Linked DNA regions of Homo sapiens: region 2 is linked to region 1. Evidence: promoter capture Hi-C in 16 types of primary human blood cells and fetal thymus (Javierre and others, 2016). All regions are on one chromosome and are shown on one strand. The core of a region is centred on a gene start or on the middle of the fragment in contact, and the rest is flanking DNA. Distances in the headings are between cores, read along the strand shown.

Region 1 (3,643 bases), core at 587-3,086:
TGCTTTACAGTTTACAAAGAGCTTTGGCATAGAAATGCTTTTGCCTGACACCAAAGGGTGCACTTTCAGACTCATCTTCCTCCTCTGCACCCAGCCCCCTCCCACGCCTGTTCTACCCACCCAGGTCAACAGGTCAGCCTGGGTAGTGTTGGCCTTGGGCCAGCATTTTATATGTCCATGCCTCCCCTAGTAAATAATGGCAGAGTTGAACTCAAGGGCGACCCTCTGCCTCCCTCTCTTACCCCCAGCACACCCTTGCGTACATAGGCTTTCCTCCCCAACCCATTCAGGACTCTGACTCTCCTAAAACTCACCGGTGTGCCCAGGTCTGGAAGGAAAGTGACCCCCATGTGTGTCCTCCCCCGAACACACCTCTTGCATCTTTGCAGAGAAAACCCCCACAAGGGGAGGAAGTGAAGGCCACAGATGGGTGTCTGAAATTCCCAAATGAGGCAGGAGTAAATGGAGGGAGGGGAGGAGTCCAGCCCACGGAAAGGAGTGGTATCTGGGCAGGCCCTGGAGACTCTTCAAAAAGGGCTGGGAGGTGGTGGCGATCTGTGTATTTATCTTGCTGGCAAAGAGGCGCTGCCCAGTCAACTTTGTAACTGAATCCACCAAACAGGCAGACTTTGCAACACAGCCGGCCCAGGTTTCTGCAGAAGGCGCTGGGCAGCTGGAACCTCTCCCCCCCCCTTTCTAGCCCCCCTCCCAAGAGCTCAAGAGGATTTCCCTTTCATTTCCTTCGAGGCTGGGAGGGCTGGGGACAGCGCAGTCTGTGGGGTCAAGCCCTCAGAAACCACTTCCTATGTGGCTGGGGGAGGGCGAGCAGCTGGAGGACGTATCTGGGGTCCCCGAGTGAGAACAGCAGGAGAAGCCCTCTGGGCAGTCACTGCTCTCCAGGGTGCCTTTCGGGTCGGGAACCGCAGAGGTCGGAGAAAAGATTTTAGGCCCTTCCAGAGGAGCTCCGAGCAGAATCTGCACTCTCGGTCCCAGCCCGCGGTGGCCAGGACGAGGATAAGGTTGGGCGTGAGAAGGACACTTCGAAGGGGCTCCCCGCCCAGGCCGCACCCCAGCTGTCTGAAGAAAATCCGGAGACAACCCCTCCTCAACTCCCTCCCCCAACCCCTTTGGAGCAGGGCTGCCCTGGCAGGGAGAGGGGGCGGGAGAGCTCCGCCCCGGCCTGCATTGCTCCAGCCCGGGCTCAGCCGGGAGGTGACGCGCACCCGGCACCCCGGGGACTTCGGGCGGCGAGTTTGGCAGAGTTGAACGAAGCCAAGCCAAGCCGGGCCCGGCAATGCGGAGCCGGGCCGCGCCAGGCCAGGAAGAGCGGGTCAGACAGGGAACGGCCCGCCACGGTGGGGCGGTGGGGCGGTGGGGCGGTGGGCGGGGGCGCGCGGGGGCACCCACCTCTCCGCGCTGCAGCTGGAAGAAGCTGTTGAGATAGCTGGAGTGCAGGGGCGAGCCCAGCTGCTCGGGGCGGCCCTTGCCGAAGGCCAGCTCCGGGGGTGCGGCGCCGGCGGTCGGCTCGGGCCGGAAGGCATCGAAGGCGCTAGCCTGGTGCGTGTCCTGCAGCGACAGGTAGACCCAGTTGAGCAGCTGGGCGGGCTGGTACACCGAGGCGGCGCTCGTGTCGATGGCCGACAGCAGGCTCATTTTGTGGCGGCGGTGCCGGCCCCTCCCCGGCCGCCCGCTCGCGGCCCCCCTCCGCAGCGGAGGGGCGGGCACCGGGGAGCCTGTGCCCACTGCCCGCCTCCCGAGCCCCGACGGTGATCGCCCCGCGCCCTGCGCCCCGCGCGCTGCCCGCAGCCGCTGCCGCTGCCGCCGCCTCCCCCCGACTGCGGCCCCGGCGCGCGCAGGCGGTGGAAGGAGGCAGCGAAAGTTGGGCAGGAAACTTTTGGCCCCGCCCCTCCGCCCCGCCCACTGCGTCCCGCCCCGCCCGGCGATCCGCTATCTGCCTCGCGGCTGACCCCTCCAGCGGCGGCTCCGGGGGTGGGGTCCACGATGCCCCGCCGCCCACTCCCTGCCCCGCCTGGCACTGTCCTCGCCCTGCATTGGCTGTCTCGTTGAATATGAACCGTCAGGGGTGGGGAGAGAGGGGAGTGAGGCTCATCTGCATATGCAGCACGGCGCGGGCCCGCCCATGCGAGGCCCCGCCCAAGCCCCACCTCGTCCCAGCCCGGCCAACCCAGCTCCCCGAGCTGCCGGGAGCTCAGTGCAGCCCCGGCCTAATCAATTTCGTCTCCCTCTGTCGTCAGCGCTCTTGTCTCGTTCTTTCCAAATCCTCTGCAATTGTTTTTCACTCACTTTTCCTTTCCTATTTTCCCTCCTTTCTCATACTCCTTCTTTCTCTCTCTCTTAGACTAGTACTAGTCTCCTGTGTCCGTCGTCCTTGTATGTGGCGCCCTCCGTGTGTGTGTGTGTGTGTGTGTGTGTGTGTATGTCCTTCTCTTTCTCTCACTCTTCTTGTCTCCTTTCTTCTATTTCCGTCTGGTCTGATGTTTCTCCCTGTCTCTCCCGCTCCTCTCTCAGACGCGTGTACACAGACGCACACACTTCTAACTCCCTCCTCTCGCTATCACCATCGGACCCTCCCCCTCCTACTTAATTCCTTCCATCTGCAGAATCACTTTGCGGGCCGGCTGCGCCAAGGGGGGCCCGGGTTCCTGCCCCAGGAAAGACTCCCCGCCCCCTCCCCCCCCCCTTCTCCTATTTCTGCTCTGGGCCCGCCTCGCTTCTCGACCCTCTTCCTCCACCCCGGCTCCAGCCCTAGCCCGCCCCGGTGCCTTGGCGAGTCGCCAGGACACCAGCCTGGGCCGGGGGAGCTCGGGAAAGCGGCTGTCACCCATCTCGCTGGGACAACTCAGCTAGTCCAAGACTGCCTGGAGGGAGCCCCGCCCCCGCCTCCGCCTCCGCCTGACGCCCCAGGAAGCCCCGGGGCCTTCACCGTCTCTTTCTCCGGGTGGTCTTTGCTGCGCCAGCACCGGGGACCTAGCCCAGAGGAACTCACCGCCTGGCTGGGACCGAGTCACCTCTCCCACTTTCAGTCTGGCTCTGGAGCCATTCCGCCCAGCGTTGGAGTGCCAGCTTGGCCACCGTCCAGCGGAATGACCTCTGCATGACGCCTAACCTCTGCGAGCAAGCCTGTTTTCTCCTCTGTAAAATGGGAGCAGTCATCCTCCCGCCGCCGGGGACATTTGTGTGCTTCCCAGCTTGGGTTTGGTAAGCGGAAGATATTCCATAAAGGACAGCTCTTCCCCGCCACCCACTCCACGAGTTACTCACATCACCTGCAGGGCACCTAACCACATCTATGGTCGCTCGCACCACGAAGGCCTTCAGTGATGACCAAATGCCACCCTTTTTCACCAACCAAGAGGCCCTTGGATCTCAGATCTCCATCTTGTCTATCAATTTGCAGTTATTAATACAAACGACAGCATATGTATCAATCATGTCTTCATATTTTCATTCATCAAGAACACATCTATACAGTACCCTTTATATTTTTAAACAGTATTAAACCTATTTGTTTAAAGAGTAGGTACACGGTTCTTGCAAATGGCTCACCTGTAATCCCAGCACTTTGGGAGGCCAAGGCAGACAGACTGCTTGAGCCCAGGAGTTCCAGACAAGCCCTGGAAAC
Region 2 (3,643 bases), core at 738-3,237, 1.4 Mb before region 1:
TGAGGTAATTATGTATTCATATAAAAGTCTTTGGTGGATATGCTTTTTCCCACAAGCACTTGGTTAGAATGGCCCATTACCTCATTTGTTTATTTTTTGAGACAGGGTCTCTTGTCACCCAGGCTGGAGTACAGTGGCATGATCATGGGTTACTGTACCTCCCGGGCTTGGGTGATTCTCCCACCTCAGCCTCCCTTGTAGCTGCGACTACAGGCATGTGCCACCGTGCCCTGCCAATTTTTTGTAGAGACAGGATTTAGCCGTGTTGCTCAGGCTGCTCTTGAACTCCCGGACTTGAGCAGTCTGCTTGTCTAAGCCTTCCAAAGTGCTGGGATTACAGGTGTGAGCCACTGTGCCCAGCCTGTTACCTCATTTAAAACAAATTTTGCACATCTGAACAGCCTAAAATTGTAATGTGATAAGTGGGGTAGGAGTGGGGTGGGCGTAGTGGGATTTTGAATCAATGAAGGCCCTTGTTCTTGTGGCATCCTTTTGCAGTGATTCCCTGCCAGGCAAGGCAGTAAACCTGGGATTGCCTGCCCAGGACTGTAATCACATTGATGTCCCAGCGCCATGGAGTATGTAATGAATGAACTGCCAGCAGAACTACTCACTAAGAACTACTCCCTGTTTGTGAGGATTGTACCTGTTGAGAGAAGTTGCAAAAAGAATTAGTCAAAAGAATTAGTCAAAATTTGTCCTCTGACCTAGGTCTGAAGGACATTTAACACATTGATTGTTCTCTTCATCCAGCCTTTGAGCCCTATGAGTTAGTGCCCTTAGCCTTTGAGTCCCACAGGTATGGAGGAGCTACCTGTGGGGACCTGAGCCATCACTATTCCTGCTTCAAGTTACACTGGTGCCTCTCACTAGCACTGCTCTGAAAAGCCAGCTGGAAAAATCAATGCATTTGAGTACATAAATTCTTTGGCTCCAAAGAAATGCCATAGCAATATTGCTTTTAATTCAGTTTTGTTTAGATGTTAGAATTGGTATTTGTTCTTGCTTTTTGGTTGCGATGGAGTTATATACTAAGTTACTTATACTAAGGCATTAGTAGTCTCATATCTGAGGAGCAATTGTATTTTTAGTTCAGCTAAATTAATGCCTCTTTTTAAATACTAACTTGTACTACTTTTGTGGCTGTGAATGGTATCTTTTATTGAACTGAGGCAGCTTTTAAAAGACTTGCCTGATCATTTAGAGCACTCCCATTGAGGTTAAATTAGACTTGAATCTGTAATGATTCTCGTAACTGTTCCTGGTGTGTGTCCAGCACAATGTTGCTGGGCAGAGCAGAGGGGCAGAGGCTCAGGTATGTACTTCATTGACAAGTGGGCAAGGCCATCCTGGGTACCACATTGGCTTAATGATCTCTTCATTGTGAAGTCCGGCTACCTCGTTTGCATAAGAACTACAGTAATCAGGCAAGGCATTGTCAGAATTGGGAGGAATAAAATCAGTGAGTCTGGAAGGAGTGCTCTGTATACAATTGCAAAGAACAAAATGGTCATCTTTAAGGTACCTGATTGCATGCACTTAAATGCAGATTATTTTGGAGTTTGAAAAGGGACTATTAATGAAATCTTTCTTTTCCCTCCTTTCTCTTTTTCCCTTCCCCGCCACTGATTCAGTGAGCTGGAGATTGGATCACAGGTATAATTCAAGCTTTTCATGTAGTCATGTAGATCACTAGACTCCTTGGTGTACTGACGTAGCAATTTAAAAGCAGATCATGTGTAGTACATCTAGAAGTAGATTTACAAATATTCTGAAGAGTTGTAACCTTTTAAAATACTAACAGTGACATGGTTTTGTTTTTAAGGTTTAGCAATATTTAGCCCATTATTTTTGTTTTATTCTTAACTTGAATGTTTGTAAATTTTATTTCTTGATGCTTTCATTGTGTTATGATAACATCAAAATAACTTGATATTCTAGGTTACTAATAATTGTTGTGCATGAGTGTTACTACTTTTGGAATTGAAGACTTTAAAGAATTTTAAAGGCAGTTGTTGACTAAACTTCTTTCTCTTGATTCACAGCCGAAGGAGTAAAGGTGCTGCAATGATGTTAGCTGTGGCCACTGTGGATTTTTCGCAAGAACATTAATAAACTAAAAACTTCATGTGTCTGGTTGTTTGAAATGTATTTGCAGTTTCCTGGGACTGCTAGGAGGTTAGTCTGCTGATTTCAGTTGCTGTCCAAGTTCACATGCTCCATGAAGCATTCAGTGAAAACTTAATGTCATGGGGTGGTGTTTGTTTGCTGCTTGGTTTATAGCTTAGGTGGGTTCATCTGGGAGTCAAGCTTGTAAATGCTGTGTTAAGAACCATGTCCGCGGTGGACGCAGTGTAGTGGCTCACAGTCATCAGCACTTTTGGGAGGTTTGGGTGGGATGATTACACTTAAGCCCAGGAGCTCGAGGCTACAGTGAGGTGTTTTTTTTTTCGAGACAGGGTCTAGCTTTGTTACCTAGGCTGGTCTTGATTGAACTCGGGCTCAAGCGATCCTCCTACCTTGGCCACATAAAGTACTGGCATGAGCGACCACGTCTGGCTTAGAGTCTAAAAAGTACCATGTCTGGATAAACTGGAGAAATCTCAGGAAGCAGTAGAGAGCTGAAAGACTTGGTTGGGCATGAAGGGGACTCAGGAAAAGCAATACCGTGAAGGCAGAAGGGTTGAGGTTGCAGGAAGGAAGGGTAGTGGAATGTTTTGGAGAAAAGATGGTCACAGCCCCTGCATGGAGCACCTACAGACAGGAGGGCAGGGCTGAGAAGAGTTAAGTCATGGGGCTGGGCCTGCTGGCCAGGGGGTGGTTGGAGTTCTGTTTTCATATCTACAGAGGCTGTGTACTTCGGTTTGTGGGGCCTCTGGCCCTGTAGGTTCTCTTGCTAAGGAATCTGCTACTACTTTGCTAGGACCAGGAAATGGCTTACTAGTACAGAACGTGTGGAAGAATGGGGTCTTTGATGTGATTTGACATTTTTTGATGAACAGTGCATACCAGGCTGAAGGTAATGCTAGGGGCAGCAAAGGTTGGGGTTTGAGATGCAGTTTCCTGTGACTGAGCTGGAGTGTGGAAGCAGAGAAGGCACCCTGTGAGCAGCTTGCAGAGGCAAGGTGGTGAGGATCCTGACAGTGCTGCAGGGATGGGATGGGATGGGATGGGACAGGACGTGGAGCTGGGGGTGGTTGCTAAGTTGATGCAGGGAGAGTGGAAGGAAGCAATTGAGAACTGAAGGGTAGGAAATAGTTTCTGATGTGAAGAAAAAGGGCATAGCTGCAGAGAGCCTGAATGATTGAAGGTTGGCATCAAAGTCACGAAGTGGGGAGGCTTTTCTGTTCAGCTGTGCTCAGGGCAGAAGTTGTAGTCTTTCAGCCAGTAGCCTTGGGAAGGGAGGTGGGATGAAACTCAGGCTTGGCCTATTTTTCCAGAGGATCCACTTGGGTTGTGATATTATAGAAAATGTGGCAGTCTTGCTGTGAGCCTTGTTAGGCATAACATTTGGAAACTTGGCAAATTTTACGTAAAGGTCTGGATTTCCAGCCTCTTGAAATACCAGAAGCAGCAGTAGTAGCCCACCTTCCTGTTTGATAACAATTGGCAGGGCTCCAGGCTGGCTGCATCTGTTGGGACA

What was found. Contacts are between HindIII fragments. The CHiCAGO score rates a contact against its expected background, and 5 or more counts as called.
Region 2: a contact is called between a fragment that was not itself captured here and the fragment with the promoter of ZCCHC24 in region 1, in 1 of 17 cell types (naive B cells). The highest score is 5.3, in naive B cells.

What each region holds. Positions count from the first base shown.
Region 1 is chr10:79,443,788-79,447,430 of GRCh38, forward strand. ZCCHC24 (zinc finger CCHC-type containing 24) reads right to left here and starts at 1,837. Exons shown (of 4, transcript NM_153367.4): 1 at 1,408-1,837. The coding sequence starts at 1,653. It overlaps LOC105378383 (a long non-coding RNA gene), which reads left to right and starts at 2,454. Exons shown (of 4, transcript XR_946104.4): 1 at 2,454-3,643. RefSeq lists silencers at 1,690-1,749, 1,760-2,269. The HindIII fragment of the contact is 21,833 bases long and covers 1-3,643 here.
Region 2 is chr10:78,038,570-78,042,212 of GRCh38, forward strand. It overlaps RPS24 (ribosomal protein S24), which reads left to right. Exons shown (of 6, transcript NM_033022.4): 5 at 1,635-1,656; 6 at 2,046-2,128. The coding sequence ends at 1,637. Among named protein-coding and RNA genes, the nearest start is that of RPS24, 6.5 kb to the left of the region's middle. RefSeq lists enhancers at 820-1,331, 1,332-1,841, 2,162-2,663, 2,732-2,781. The HindIII fragment of the contact is 642 bases long and covers 1,667-2,308 here.